2 separate regions of the Homo sapiens genome follow, and region 2 is linked to region 1. The links are contacts of gene promoters, found by promoter capture Hi-C in human tissues and cell types (Jung and others, 2019). All regions are on one chromosome and are shown on one strand. The core of a region is centred on a gene start or on the middle of the fragment in contact, and the rest is flanking DNA. Distances in the headings are between cores, read along the strand shown.

The links. Contacts are between HindIII fragments. The study calls those that stand out against the background at their distance.
Region 2: a contact is called between a fragment that was not itself captured here and the fragment with the promoter of FRRS1 in region 1, in 1 of the 25 tissues and cell types used here (lymphoblastoid cells).

What each region holds. Positions count from the first base shown.
Region 1 is chr1:99,762,798-99,769,706 of GRCh38, reverse strand. FRRS1 (ferric chelate reductase 1) reads left to right here and starts at 3,072. Exons shown (of 17, transcript NM_001361041.2): 1 at 3,072-3,100. The HindIII fragment of the contact is 12,687 bases long and covers 1-4,060 here.
Region 2 is chr1:100,384,271-100,391,016 of GRCh38, reverse strand. It overlaps CDC14A (cell division cycle 14A), which reads right to left. Exons shown (of 16, transcript NM_003672.4): 4 at 193-285. Among named protein-coding and RNA genes, the nearest start is that of CDC14A, 35 kb to the right of the region's middle. The HindIII fragment of the contact is 4,505 bases long and covers 1-3,502 here.

The sequences.
Region 1 (6,909 bases), core at 1,823-4,322:
GGTGTTACATGATATCACAAAAGATTGAATGCAAGCAGATATGAGAATCCTACTGTCTTCTATTAAGCCAGACATTAAAGAGATTTGCAACAATTTAAACAATGATACTTTTTCTTTTTTTTAGACTAGTCAAATGCTATACTTTTTCATTAAATTTTTTATTGTTGAAAAACAATAATATAAGCAACAGAAAAGATACTGTGTTAACATGTAACTATTATTGTCACTTAAAAACAAATTTATGAATATTTAACTTTTTCTGTTAATTTTTAATACAAAAATATTAATAGATATCACCCACATAAAGAAGCATCTCTGATGTACATAATAATCTTTCAAAGTTGTGAAGGGACCTTGAAATAAAAAAAGTTTGAGAACTGCTGATATAGAGGCATGAGAATGGTAACCAGTAGGGTAGCTTTAACTTCTTAGGATCTAAGCTCCATTAAACTAATTTTAATAAAATTGGTCTCCTTTGTGACAACTGATGAGTTGATGAAGAGTCTGGTAGAGGTGATCTGGAAGGGAATGATAAGGTGGAATTATAGCTGGGGACATGGAGAGAAATGATAGTCTCAGAAGGGGTGGTGTTTTATTTATTTATTATTTATTGAGATGGAGTCTTGCTCTATTGGCCAGGTTGGAGTGCAGTGGTGTGATCTCTGCTCACTGCAACCTCTGCCACCCAGGTTCAAGCATTCTCCTGCCTCAGCCTCCTGAGTAGCTGGGATTACAGGCGTGTGCCACCACATCTGGCGAATTTTTGTGTTTTTAGTAGAGACAGGGTTTCATCATCTTGGCCAGGCTGGTCTTGAACTCCTGATATCGTGATCCACCCCCCTCGGCCTCCCAAAGTGTTGGGATTACAGATGTGAGCCACTGAGCCTAGTGAAAGGGTTGTTTTAGACAAAGCTAGCCTCTCTCTCCATTCAGTTCTTCCCACTGTGTCGTACCACTTCCTAAGAGTGCTTTAGAATGTAGGGTTCTGATAATATAGTCGAAGAGTTTTTGTTTTATAGACATATCATACTTTTGGCATGCAATGGGGACAGTTCCTGGAAAGGGTCTGTTATCTGCAGAAGGCTATTTCACCACTTGAGGCTTTGAAGAACTGAAGATCAGCTGACTTAGTTTAAAACTATTCATGTTCCCAGCAGCTTTAGGATAGCAAACCAACTCTGGGTCATCTTTATTTAAAGCCTCTCTTTAATAACCTGTAGAGAGGGGCTTTTGTTAATTGTGACTAGTTCTTTAAGAGAAAGCGTAACGTGATGGTGTTCCTTTCTCTGTTCTCTCTTTAAAAATGGTTTAAAGAATTTACTGGGGTTGATTGATAACCAGCATTCACAGGTCAAGGCATGGGTCATAATCTATTTTCCAGTCTGCATATGTTGAAAGCGCCTTTGCAAAAAGGCTTTTTGCAAAGCCTTTTATAACTGAGGAAATTATGGCAGTGAATGAGAACAGACCTAACTGGCTCTGTCTTGCTTCTAATCTTTAAGCTGTCCTTGTTCATTCCTGGGCATATGCCAAACTAACTTTGGGAAGGAATCCAGTTCATGTTTTGACTCTGAAACAAAATTGGTAGTAGCCCTTTCCTGAATAGACCCCCTTCTTGCCTGGGGACCAGTCTGCCTTTGCAGGACCAACAAATTAGCTACAAGATTAGAAATTATGGTTTAGGGGTCATGCAGCCTCTGGCTCCAAGAGTCTGAACCTCCCCAAATTGCTCCTGGGGATAACATCACTATTGTAAAACCTAAGATCAGTGCTTGAGATATTTTGCAGAGCCTGGACTCGGTGGATCAGCTGATGCCACACAGACCGGTAATTGGGCTCACCCAGTTCTGCCATCCCACCCAGGAACAGAAGACAGCAAGAAAACCTCACGTCGACCCCCCATGATTCCATCTCCAATCTGACCAATTAGCACTCCCACTTCCCAAGCCCCTACCCGCCAAATTATCTTTAAAAATTCTGATCTCCGAATCCTGGGGAGACTGTGTTGAGTAATAATAGAACTCCGGGCTGGGCGCGGTGGCTTATGCCTGTAATCTCAGCACTTTGGGAGGCTGAGGCAGGTGGAATCACTTGAGGTCAGGAGTTCCAAACTAGCCTGGCCAACATGGTGAAACCCTGTCTCTGCTAAAATACAAAAATTAGCCGGGCGTGGTGGCGGGCGCCTGTAGTCCCAGCTACTGGGGAGGCTGAGGCAGGAGAATCGCTTGAACCTAGGACGGGGAGGCTGCAGTGAGCCGAGATCATGCCACCGCACTCCAGCCTGGGCCACAGACAGAGACTCCGTCTCAAAACAAAACAAAACAAAACAAACAAACAAACAAAACAAAAAACTCCGGTCTCCTGCACAGCCAGCTCTGCGTGAATTACTCTTTCTCCATTGCGATTCCCCTGTCTTGATAAATCGGCTCTGTCTAGACAGCGGGCAAGGTGAACCCACTGGGCAATTACAATGTCACTCAAGGTCTGAAATGGAATGTTTAATATTTTCAATTACATTAAAGAGAAGAAAAAAAGTAAAAAACAGGAAAACAAAAAACAAAATAAAAACAAAGATTGTTAAAAATTCAATTACATTGTCTTTTCCTAGCCCTAAAATTTTTCTTTTGCAAAAGAGTCTTGTGAAACAGATTAAAGGCTTAAAAAGAAACAAAACTCCTAAATTTCAGGGGTAATTTGCAAAATAAAAGATTTCTTTTGCATTATATCATTCACACTGCAGAAAGGTTTCGGTTCTATGCAATCTGATCTTTTTCCACTTTTTAAAAGTTAATTTGCTTTTACTTAGCACTATTATAGAACAGGTATTTTCAAATAGTTTTGCAATTAAACACAAAAACTATAATTTTTGTGGCGAAGTAGGTACTAGTTGGCAAACACTGTTCCTTAGTGTAAAACAGAATTCTAAGTTTTCAGAAATGGAGTCCTAAAACTAGCACTGGTCTTGCAAATCAAGTTCTGCAGCTTAGTTTGGGAAAGGTTCCCTTTTGGCTCAAGGCTTAACTGGCTCCACCCAGCTGCTGAAATGTGATACAAGTTGTAACAAAACCGGAAGTTGGTTAGGCTGCCTTCGCTTCTCAAGGTAAGTGTCACGTCTTTTTCCTTAATGTCAAAGCTCTTTGTAAAGCGTTAAAAATCAAATCCAGCTTAGCGACAGACTGGAGAGCGAGTGCCTGTGCTGACCAGGGCAGTCGGCCAGGCAGAACGGGTGCTGTATTCCGAAACTATGTTCTGGAGCTTGAATTGAGCTAATGAGTGTTCACTAACGAGTTAGGTTAATATGTCCTGTGACTTTGACTAACAAGCTTTAATTCCAAGATATGGGTGGTTATAAGTAGAGACGTGTTTGGGATCCTGAAAATCATTGACTTTATTCTTGCAGGAGTTTTTTTTTTGTTTTTAATTTTAAATTTAAAACTGTAGGAACTCTTTTTTTATATTTAAAGCTAGTGGCATGGTTACCTATATCAGGGTCACTTAGAACCTTATTTGGTTTTTAAAGTGGCTTTTTATCTAGAACTTTTAGTCCCCTTACCCTCCCACTCCCTAGCCCTGGTGTGTCGTTAAAATTTCAGAAAGACTCCAGGGTGGCAAGGTGTTATCACTGCACTTATTTTTGTGTGTGCTTGTCATACTGCCCTAAAGGGTAAAGGGGATTTTTCAAATTGTAAATGTGTTATTAGGAATATTTCTTAACATAGCTAAACTTTTCAGTTCAGATATTTTCATTTGCTTCTGTATTTTTATTTTTTATTTTTATTTATTTATTTATTCATTTATTTTTGAGACGGAGTCTCGCTCTGTCCGCCAGGCTGGAGTGCAGTGGCGCGATCTCGGCTCACTGCAAGCTCCGCCTCCCGGGTTCAAGCGATTCTTCTGCTTCAGCCTCCTGAGTATACTGCTGGGATTACAGGCGCCCGCCACCACGCCCGGCTAATTTTTTGTATTTTTAGTAGAGACGGGGTTTCACTGTGTTGGCAAGGATGGTCTCTATCTCCTGACCTCGTGATATGCCCGCCTCCGCCTCCCAAAGTGCTGGGATTACAGGCTTGAGCCACCGCGTCTGGCCTATTTATTTATTATTTTCGAGACGGAGTGTTGCTCTTGTGGCCCAGGCTGGAGTGCAACGGCGGGATTTCGGCTCACTGCAACCTCTGCCTCCCGGGTTCAAGCAATTCTCCTGCCTCAGCCTCCTGAGTAGCTGGGATTACAGGCAGGCACCACCACACCCGGCTAATTTTGTATTTTTAGTAGAAACGGGGTTTCTCCATGTTGGTCAGTCTGGTTTCGAACTCCCAGCGTCAGGTCATCTGCCTGCCTCGGCCTCCCAAAGTGCTGGGATTACAGGCGTGAGCCACCGCGCCCAGCCACTTCTGTATTTTTAAAAAAGTGGTAAGATTTGAGTATTATACTGGGATAGAACTGAAGTTGGGGGCTTAATTTGATCTATCAGCTTATTGAAAACAAAGACCTTTTAAGAGATGGTTTTGTTAGGTTGGAGAAGTGAGTTTTAGTTCGTCATTTAGTTAGCCAGTATGTTGATTTTTTTGGTGAAGTGTACTCTCTGTTTCACACCTGTCAGCTTTTTTAATATTGGATTTTCTCAAAATTCACATAACAATCACACTGTATGAGTACTGTTTTGAAGGTTGTCTGCTAGTCAGAATGAATGGAGATCAATGTGTAGGACACCTTTACTGATATCCAGAGGTTTACCAAAAGACAAGTCACCAAATGTGGCAGAAAAACATGATAAAATTTATTAGGAAAAACTAAAGCTTATGGAGTGAACAGTTATTTCAGGTTGGTGGAATTAGGCAAGAATCCAAGAAAGGAAGACAGTTTTATATGGGAGACTTTGTTAATGGTGGTCATTGTGCTAGATATTTTGGAGATAGTATTTTATTTAATCCTCATGCAAGCCATTGATATTGGTGGCATTGTCTCTAACAAGTGAGAAAACTAAGACTCAGTAAGGTTAAATAATTTGTCCAGGGTCACTATGGTGGTGCCTGCTGGATTACATTAATGGACAGATTCAAACCTAGGTCTGTGATATTTCAAAGTCCATACACTTCATTGTATCATAGGACAGTAGTTGACGGCGTTTTAAATGGATCTTGAAAGAGGGGTGAAGGTCTTCTTTATCAAAACAAACAAAAATAGTAAAAGTAACATAGAATGTTTGAAAATAGAAAAAAGAAAATATCTAACCACCTTCAAATCAGTTTCTGTACAGTCTTACATGTACATACTTTGTAGTGTTTTTTGAAATTATAAAACACTACATGCTTTAAAAAAAATGCACATTATAAAGGGCATTAAAGAAAGGAAGCCCACTCTTCCCATCCTGAAAACACATACCTTCCTAAGGGGTAAACACTGTTGAGAACAATTGGAAGCATGTATAAAGGTTTTTTTCTTTTCCTTTTAAGTTATGTATATTTTGGTACATTCCATATCATTTTGCAGTTTTCTTGTTTTGATTCCTCAGTGGAGCATGAGCATGTATCTTCTTAACATGCAGATTCATGTCTTGGGATTTTTGTGAAATGAGTTCATACTTGCAAAGTACTTAAAACAATGCCTACCTCCTAGAATGCACTCAATAATTATTAGCTGATGTATTTGTTATCTGTTTACTCTATTTCATTTTGTTAACGTTTAGCAAGTATTATATAGTTTGGGTATAGCGTAGTTTATTTTTGTAACCACTTAAATTATCCAACATTTTTGCTACTGGAAATAATCCTTGCTTAACTGTATGGGTTTTTCTGTAAGATATATTTCTTTTCTTTTCATTCTTTTTTTTTTTTTTTTGAGACAGAGTTTCACTCTTGTTGCCCAGGCTGGAGTGCAATGGTGCCATCTCGGCTCACCTCAACCTCTGCCTCCAGGGTTCAAGCGATTCTTCTGCCTCAGCCTCCCGAGTAGCTGGGATTACAGGCATGCACCCCCAAGCCCGGCTACTTTTGTATTTTTAGTAGAGAAGGGGTTTCTCCATGTTGGTCAGGCTGGTCTCGAACTTCTAACCTTAGGTGATCTGCCCGCCTGGGCCTCCCAAAGTGCTGGGATTACAGGTGTCAGCCACTGCGCCCGAACTGTAAGATACATTTCTAGAAATGAAATTTCCAGGTCAGAGGATAAACATTTTTAATTTACTAAGATATTGTTAACATCTAAAAATGTGACAGTTTACCATTGTCCCTGTGTATGAGAGTGCTCGTTTCTTCACATCCTTGCTTATATCAGATATTATTACTCTTTTGCATATTACATGAAATAATGGGGAATACACAGTTCTACCTAGTTTGAGCATAGTGTACAGAGATTATTGTATCTTATTTTTCAGTGTAACATTTATTTTTATATGGACAGGAATTTAACCAAATTCCTGTCCATATAAAAATAGGGGGTCCCATTTAGGGGAAAAATAGGGGTCCCATTTAGAAGGCAAAACTTCAGGAGAAAAAGAAGCTTATTCCTGGAATAGCAGATGGCACATTGTTATTACAGTATAGGGAAAAAAAATTCTTGAAATTTTGGTTGTGTAGAAAAGTATAAAATATTAAATGTCGAGTGCCTTTGCTTCTTAATCTAATAATTCTTGGGAAGCTGCTGAGTGTTTTGCGGGGAGAGGAGAGGTATAATGAGAATTGTACCTTAGGAAAATAATCCTGTGTTGAGGAGATACAGAAACAGGGAGACCAGTTGAAAGTGTTTTATTAATCTGAGTGAAGGTAATGAAGTCTTCATGCTTGGAGGTGGTGGCAGAAAGGAAAACACTAGACAAATGTAATAGAATGGAAAGTAGAAGAGAGTTGCAAGAGGGATAGGTAGAGTGCAGAATTGGTGGAGGTAGAATCTGCAGAGCTTGTGTGGAAGTTGGGG
Region 2 (6,746 bases), core at 1-2,500, 620 kb before region 1:
GTAGAAAATAAAATCTAAAGAGTAAACATTCCACCACTGCTAGTCCATATTTCTCACTACAGATCAATTCCCAAACTGCTAATAATCTCCACCGTCTCTCAATCCCACTGAAAAACTGGTTTGGATTTTCTTTGACAGTGTTAGCATTTCACTGGCCTGATTATAGAAAATAATCATGAAGAAGGTACTTACTGCATAGGCACCTATCAAAAATGCTGCATTTGCTCTTTTCCGTTGGTCAAAACAGGTGTAGTGCACTATTTTCTTTCTTGACAAACTGTATGACTAGAAAGAGGAGATAAAAAGAGTTAGTGTAACCATAGAGACAAAGTTAACATATACAGAAGGCAAACATCATCTCTTAACCTTCAAGATGTGCTACAACCCATAAAATTTAACAACTTTCAACTTTAATTTCTATGGCATTTGAGGGTTAGAGAATTACTAGCTCAGATTTTGTACAGCCCAATCATAATGTAAGAATCAACAATATAATTAATATCTTTCTCTCCCAGAAAAGAAACTAATATGGTGGAAAATAATTAAAATATTGGCATCTCTATTAACTGGAAACATTTTTGACTATTTATTCTAAATCTTCTACAGAAAGTCTCTTCACACTTTGTTACCCCCTACATGCCACTCCAACTCCCAGGAATATTATCTATAGTTTTCATATAACACAATTTTTTAAAATGTCAACCAGTTTACTATGATCTCCAAAAAATCGTATTTTTGAAGACCAATATTAGTATTTTATTTCTGGGATGTTATATAACAACCCCCTTTTAATATCTGAAAATACTTGGTTAATGGAAAAATACCATTAAAAAATTATATCAGCAAACATCTTAATACAACACATTACAATAGCCATCTATTAAATTCATGAATTCAGACAGTTATTAAGCACCTGTTATATGCCAGGCAATATGCTGCATGCTCAAGTATTTAACTAAGTTCAAAATAATCAACATGGTATGTTGTACACATGCTAAACATGAAAAGAAATGACAAAAAGATCTGGTAAAATGAAATCAAATTATTAATCAAAACTCGAATAAGTATAAGACAATGAGAACACAATGTAACTCAATGAAATCTGCTTGATTTCCTCACTTTTCAAAATTTATGTATTTTGACAATTGATTTTCTAAATATAGGTACATAAACTGTCTTTAATGAGCTAGCAAAAAAAACACAGGCACAAAAGTACATTTCAGTATTTGTCTATAAATTCACATTGACTATAAAAGCAGCTTTTTCTATCTTATACATTGACTACAACACACAGAAAATCCCTGCTTTTAGAACCTCTTTAAAAAAGGTAAATAGAGCTCAACTATGTACTTTTCTTGATCCTGCTATTGTCTACAAATTAAAAAAAAACTCTTCCATCTCTGAAGCCCGTTCTAAGATGAAACTGCAACACTCTGGCTTTACCATGTAACCACAGAAAGTGTATCCCTCCAATGAGCCAGGAAATCTTCACTCCAAGTCAGGCATTTCTTTTATAACCAAAAATCATATATATATATACACATATATATATATTTTTTTTTTTTGAGACAGATTCTCGCTTTGTCACCCAGGCTGGAGTGCAGTGGCGCAACCTCGGCTCACTGCAACCTCCGCCTCCCAGGTTCAAGCCATTCTCTTGCCTCCCATGCAGCTGGGACTACAGGCACCCACAACCACGCCCGGCTAATTTTTGTATTTTTAGTAGAGACAGAGTTTCACCATGTTGGCCAGGCTGGTCTCGAACTCCTAGAATCACATTATCTGAAAATGGCTGTACCCTTTTATCTTTTACCTTTTTTTTTTTTTTTTTTTTTTGAGACAGGGTCTTGCTCTGTCACCCAGCACCCAGGCTGGAGCGCAGTGGCATGATCTGGCTCACTGCAGCCTTGACCTCTCAGCCTCAATCGATCCTCTCACCTCGGCCTCCTGAGTAGCTGGGACCACAGGCACATGCCACCATGCCTGGCAAATATTTGTATTTTTCGTAGAGGTGAGGTCTTACCATGTTGTCCAGGCTGGTCTCGAACTCCTGGGCTTAAGTGATCCACCTGCCTTGGCCTCCCAAAGTGCTGAGATTACAGGCATGAGCCACAACACCCAGCCAGTAGTGCCCTTTTTATTAAACTTTTAAAAATTAGTATGTAAGGCCAGGTGTGATGGCTCATGCCTGTAATTCCAACACTTTGAGAGGCCAAAGCAGGAGAATCACTTAGGGCTGGGAATTTGAGACTAGCCCAGGCAACATAGTAAGACCTCATCTCTACAAAAAGACTGGATAGGAGTATCACTTAAGCTCAGGAGATGGAGGCTGCAGTGAGCCATGATCACACCACAGCAGTACAGCCTGGGCAACAGAACAAGAATTTGTCTCAAAAACAAACAAACAAAAATCAAACAAAAAAAATTAGTATTTGACTCAAAGAAAGTATCTTATTGCCAATGCCCTTATTTCCTGACAGGTTTATACAAATACTCCTATGAAATAAAGAGAGAACAAAGGCACAGCATTTAATTCAGCTCAGTTGAGTTGATGCATTGAAGTTACCTAGGGATGTAAAGGTTACAACCAATGGTGCTGACACTTGATTCTTTGCTTTCTCAATTTGGAACTACTGACTGCCTGAACATTGCCTTTTTCTGTTTTATTTCATTGTCTCATTGTCTGTTGGGTGGTTGGTTGGTTTTGCCACTTATTTGTTCCCCATCAATAAGTTATGTTTGATTTACCAAAAAGGAAATAAAGGCTCTTCAGACCTAAGCATCTCCTATCATCTCTGAATTGCAAATATCTAAATACTGCCTTACACAGGCCAGGCTCTCAATAAACATGAGTCAGACTGAGCATAGGGACTCGACGCTCTTATGGCTCCCAGCCTCTCCCTATTTACATTTCCTAATTCCCTAAAATACCTGTGGGGAAGAAAATATCAACAGTCTATCTTCAAGTCTGGATTATCATTTTTGATGCTCTTTTCTACTAAGAATTTAGGTTTTATGACAAACTACTGCTATTGGTTAATAATGTGAAACTGTATTTATTTTACAAATCTACTTGCTGAAAGGGACAAGTTATAGTGCTGTTCTTTCATCACTGATGCTTATTTCTTCCTTGGGTTTTTTTGGAGGGGGTTGGGGGGAGTAGAATCTTTTGTGTTTACTTGGTTTCGTTTTTTCTCTCTCGCATTCTAAAGTATATAGAATACAGAGACTTATCCTGGAACATGAGCCATAAAACTAAAGGACAGAACTCTGAGGAAGACTTTCTTTTCACTGTATAGCTATAAATATTATTTAAGTAAATATAATACAAATTAACACTTTAAAGATTTTAGAAGAATGCTTAAACTTTATAAGCTTTCATAAATTACATCAGATAGAGAATGATCTTCACAAAATCTTCCTAGAAACTTTATTTTAAAATATTTCCTATGAGAAACTCCCCACAGGAAGCAAACATAACTGACTTCTTTTTAGAGCTTTCTGCCTGATTTTTAGGAAAATGTTTAAAGCTGCTAGCATTTACTTTGCTTAGGTATTTTTGGAATTCAGTTTCCTCGGTTAAGTTTCAAAAGCACACCAGCCAAGAAATGATTTCCTGCTTAGCGAAGCTTGGCCAGCATCTCCGAGGTCAAATCACTGAGAGGTGAGTTCTCTCACTCGAGGAATCAAAACGAATTCAAAGTTAATGAGAGCAGAGAAAAATCTACTAATCTCAAAATTAGACCTTGTCCTAATTTCCTAATTAATTTTCTAATTAATCTCAAATTTGCTAATATCAAAATTAGGCCTTTTGCTAATGTCTTTCCTTTTCACAACTGGGCCTCCCTCTTATGGTCATCCTGGCCCACAGTTTTCTACCAGTGATGCTGTTCAACAGAGAAGATACTTTGGTATTGGAATAAAAATTTGAGGGGTAACAAAATATTTTGTCCGTTGTTTAGCTGATGTTTTATATGAGTGGGCTGATTTAAAAAAAAAAAACTCTTTAATGTTTTTTCCTCTCAAATTTTAAGCATGTCCCCCACTTAAAAAATACTATTACATAATCAAAGCACCCTAGAAGAAGCAATACTAACACCCAGTGGAGACATCGATGATTGAAGTACCTTCTATGGAACATTAACTTCTCTTTTGAGATCTTTCATGGAAGAACTTTACCATGCAGACAAAGTCACAGTTTGGAGACAATAGGACAGGACTCTATGTATGAGCCCAGTCAATGTTTTCTCAGATTCTGCCCTAATATCAGGAGAATATCATGCCTCTAAATTGGACAGTGGCCTCTTCCTTACTCTGGTCTGTCTCCTCTGTAGCTGGGACCACAGGAAGGTGTCACCATGCCTGGCTAATTTTTGTATTTTTAGTAGAGATGGGGTTTCACTATGTTGGCTAGGCTGGTCTTGAACTCCTGACCTCAAGTGATCTGCTCACCCCAGCCTCCCAAAGTGCAGGGATTACAAAGCAAATATGATGAGTGGGCCCTTCAAGGAGAACACTTGCAAGGTTACATCATAGCCACAGGCTTTCAATGAGCTACCTGCTCTATTACAGATTATTTTCTGCTTTACACAAGAAGCTCACAGGTTACAAAAACACTGTATGCCATAGCAAAGTGAAGTTTAAAATTGGTCAATTCCAATAAATACAGTGTAAATATAAAATAGAGAGGGTCACAGAAAGAATACTGAGACCTCTGGACTATTTGCCAGCTCTGTAGCAGCACAGCACATGACCCATTACAAATCACAATCTGCAGCCAGCCACTATCCACCTTATGTTTTAGATTTCTATCTTGAAACTGGAACAAATACTCTTCTTTTTTTTTTTTTTAAATACTATCTCACTCTGTCACCCAGGCTGGAATACAGTGGCATGATCTTGGCTCACTGCAACCTCCACTTCCCAGGTTCAAGCAATTCTCATGCCTCAGCCTCCTGAGTAGCTGGGACTACAGGCAGGTGACACCACGCCTGGCTAATTTTTGTATTTTTAGTAGAGATGGGGTTTCACCATGTTGGCCAGGCTGGTCTTGAACTCCTGACCTCAAGTGATCTGCTCACCCCGACCTCTCAAAGTGCGGGGATTACAAAGCAAATACCCTTCTGAACTTTCTAAACTGAAGTGGACATAGCCAGCCCTCTATAATAACCGCAACAACAGCTCGCATTTATTGCTCACTTGTGACATTCCACCATTATCCAAAGCAATAGGAATGGCACCAGAGGGGTCCAGTTTAATCAGACACATAACGTCTCCCAGACTAGGGGTCCTGGGCAAGGCTAAAATATAATGAGCACACTGTGTTTTACAAGGAGAACATAAGCCCAGAGTCAGAGAGGGCCTTTGACGAACATTTACACAGTAAGAGTAGTAAGCAGGATCAGTCCAAAACTTTCTCACAGAGCCTGATAATTTGTGTAAATCTTAATTATGAGGCCATAACAAGTTTCATGCTTCAGAATTTGAATAATTCTCAGGTTGAATTGGTCAATAGTACTAAGACTTTTCAGAAATAACTAAATCTAACTCTAAACCACATTATATTATTATTGTATTATATTTCATTCTCTTAACAGATTGGTTCAGAATCACCTGCAGGGCTTATTAAAACACAGATTGCTGGGTCTCACCTCCAGAATTTCTGATTCAGTAGGGCCTGAGAATTTACATTTCTAACAGGTTTTCCAGTAATGCTGACACTGTTGGTCCAGACACCACACATTGAAATCCACTACTCTAAGATATGGCTAAATTTTGGAGAAGCACTACATAAACATGTAACTGGTCCCACCCCTGGGAATCTTTTATATGAAGCTAAAACACTGTCCATCTGGTCAAGTAGTCTCGAAAGAACTCTACATTCTCTTAAAAAGGAATTCTAAATCATGCAATAAGCCTTTTAAAAGCATTTTACAAAAAACACATTTCCCCAGATTCCTCAGCAAACCTTATTACAATTTGTAAATTCATGCATTCCAGGTGATAACACCTTAGGAACAAGTCCCTTTAATGATTCCGTAATTAAGCTGCCTTAAATGTCATTATTCCAGAAGTTCCAAATTCAGATGTTCTCAGGTGCCAAGAATCTGAAGTGGGGCAGCTGGTAAATAAGAAAAGCATTCCCTATCCAAAGTGCAGTAAGCTCCAACCTACTGCTCTTGTGAGGGAATCTGGGTGCAGAATGGTCAGATACTGCAATATTTAAAAGAAGACAAAATTGAAGCTTTCATAAACTGCAGATGTTGACTATGAATTAAAATTTTTTAAACAGTGTTTAAGCTCAAGAAAACATGTCTGTGGACAGAATGCAGGCCACAGGTGACCAATTTGCTAAATCTGGGTGCCAGGATACTGCGGCTGAAGAAGGTTCTATGGGTTCCATCAGCATGAATTGAGTAGCTGTTGTGTGTCAAACACTTTGCTGAGCAATGCAGTGACAAGGGGAGAAGAAACCCACTCTCTAACCTCAAAGGCTAATGAATATTTAATGCAAAATATTGGCCAAGGCTTATTAAAAACAGAGGAGAATAACTGTATAGGATGCATTTACAGCACACAAGGACCAATAAAATGATACTAATTACAGGTACAGTAAGTGTTTCATTTAACAAGGAAAAAATATAGTAGATAAAAGGTGGAATTTAGTATTGACTATCAATTAACATAATCAAACCTATAGAAATTTCTGTATTGCTTACCTGAGAGTCAAAGTTTTGCCCCTGTTA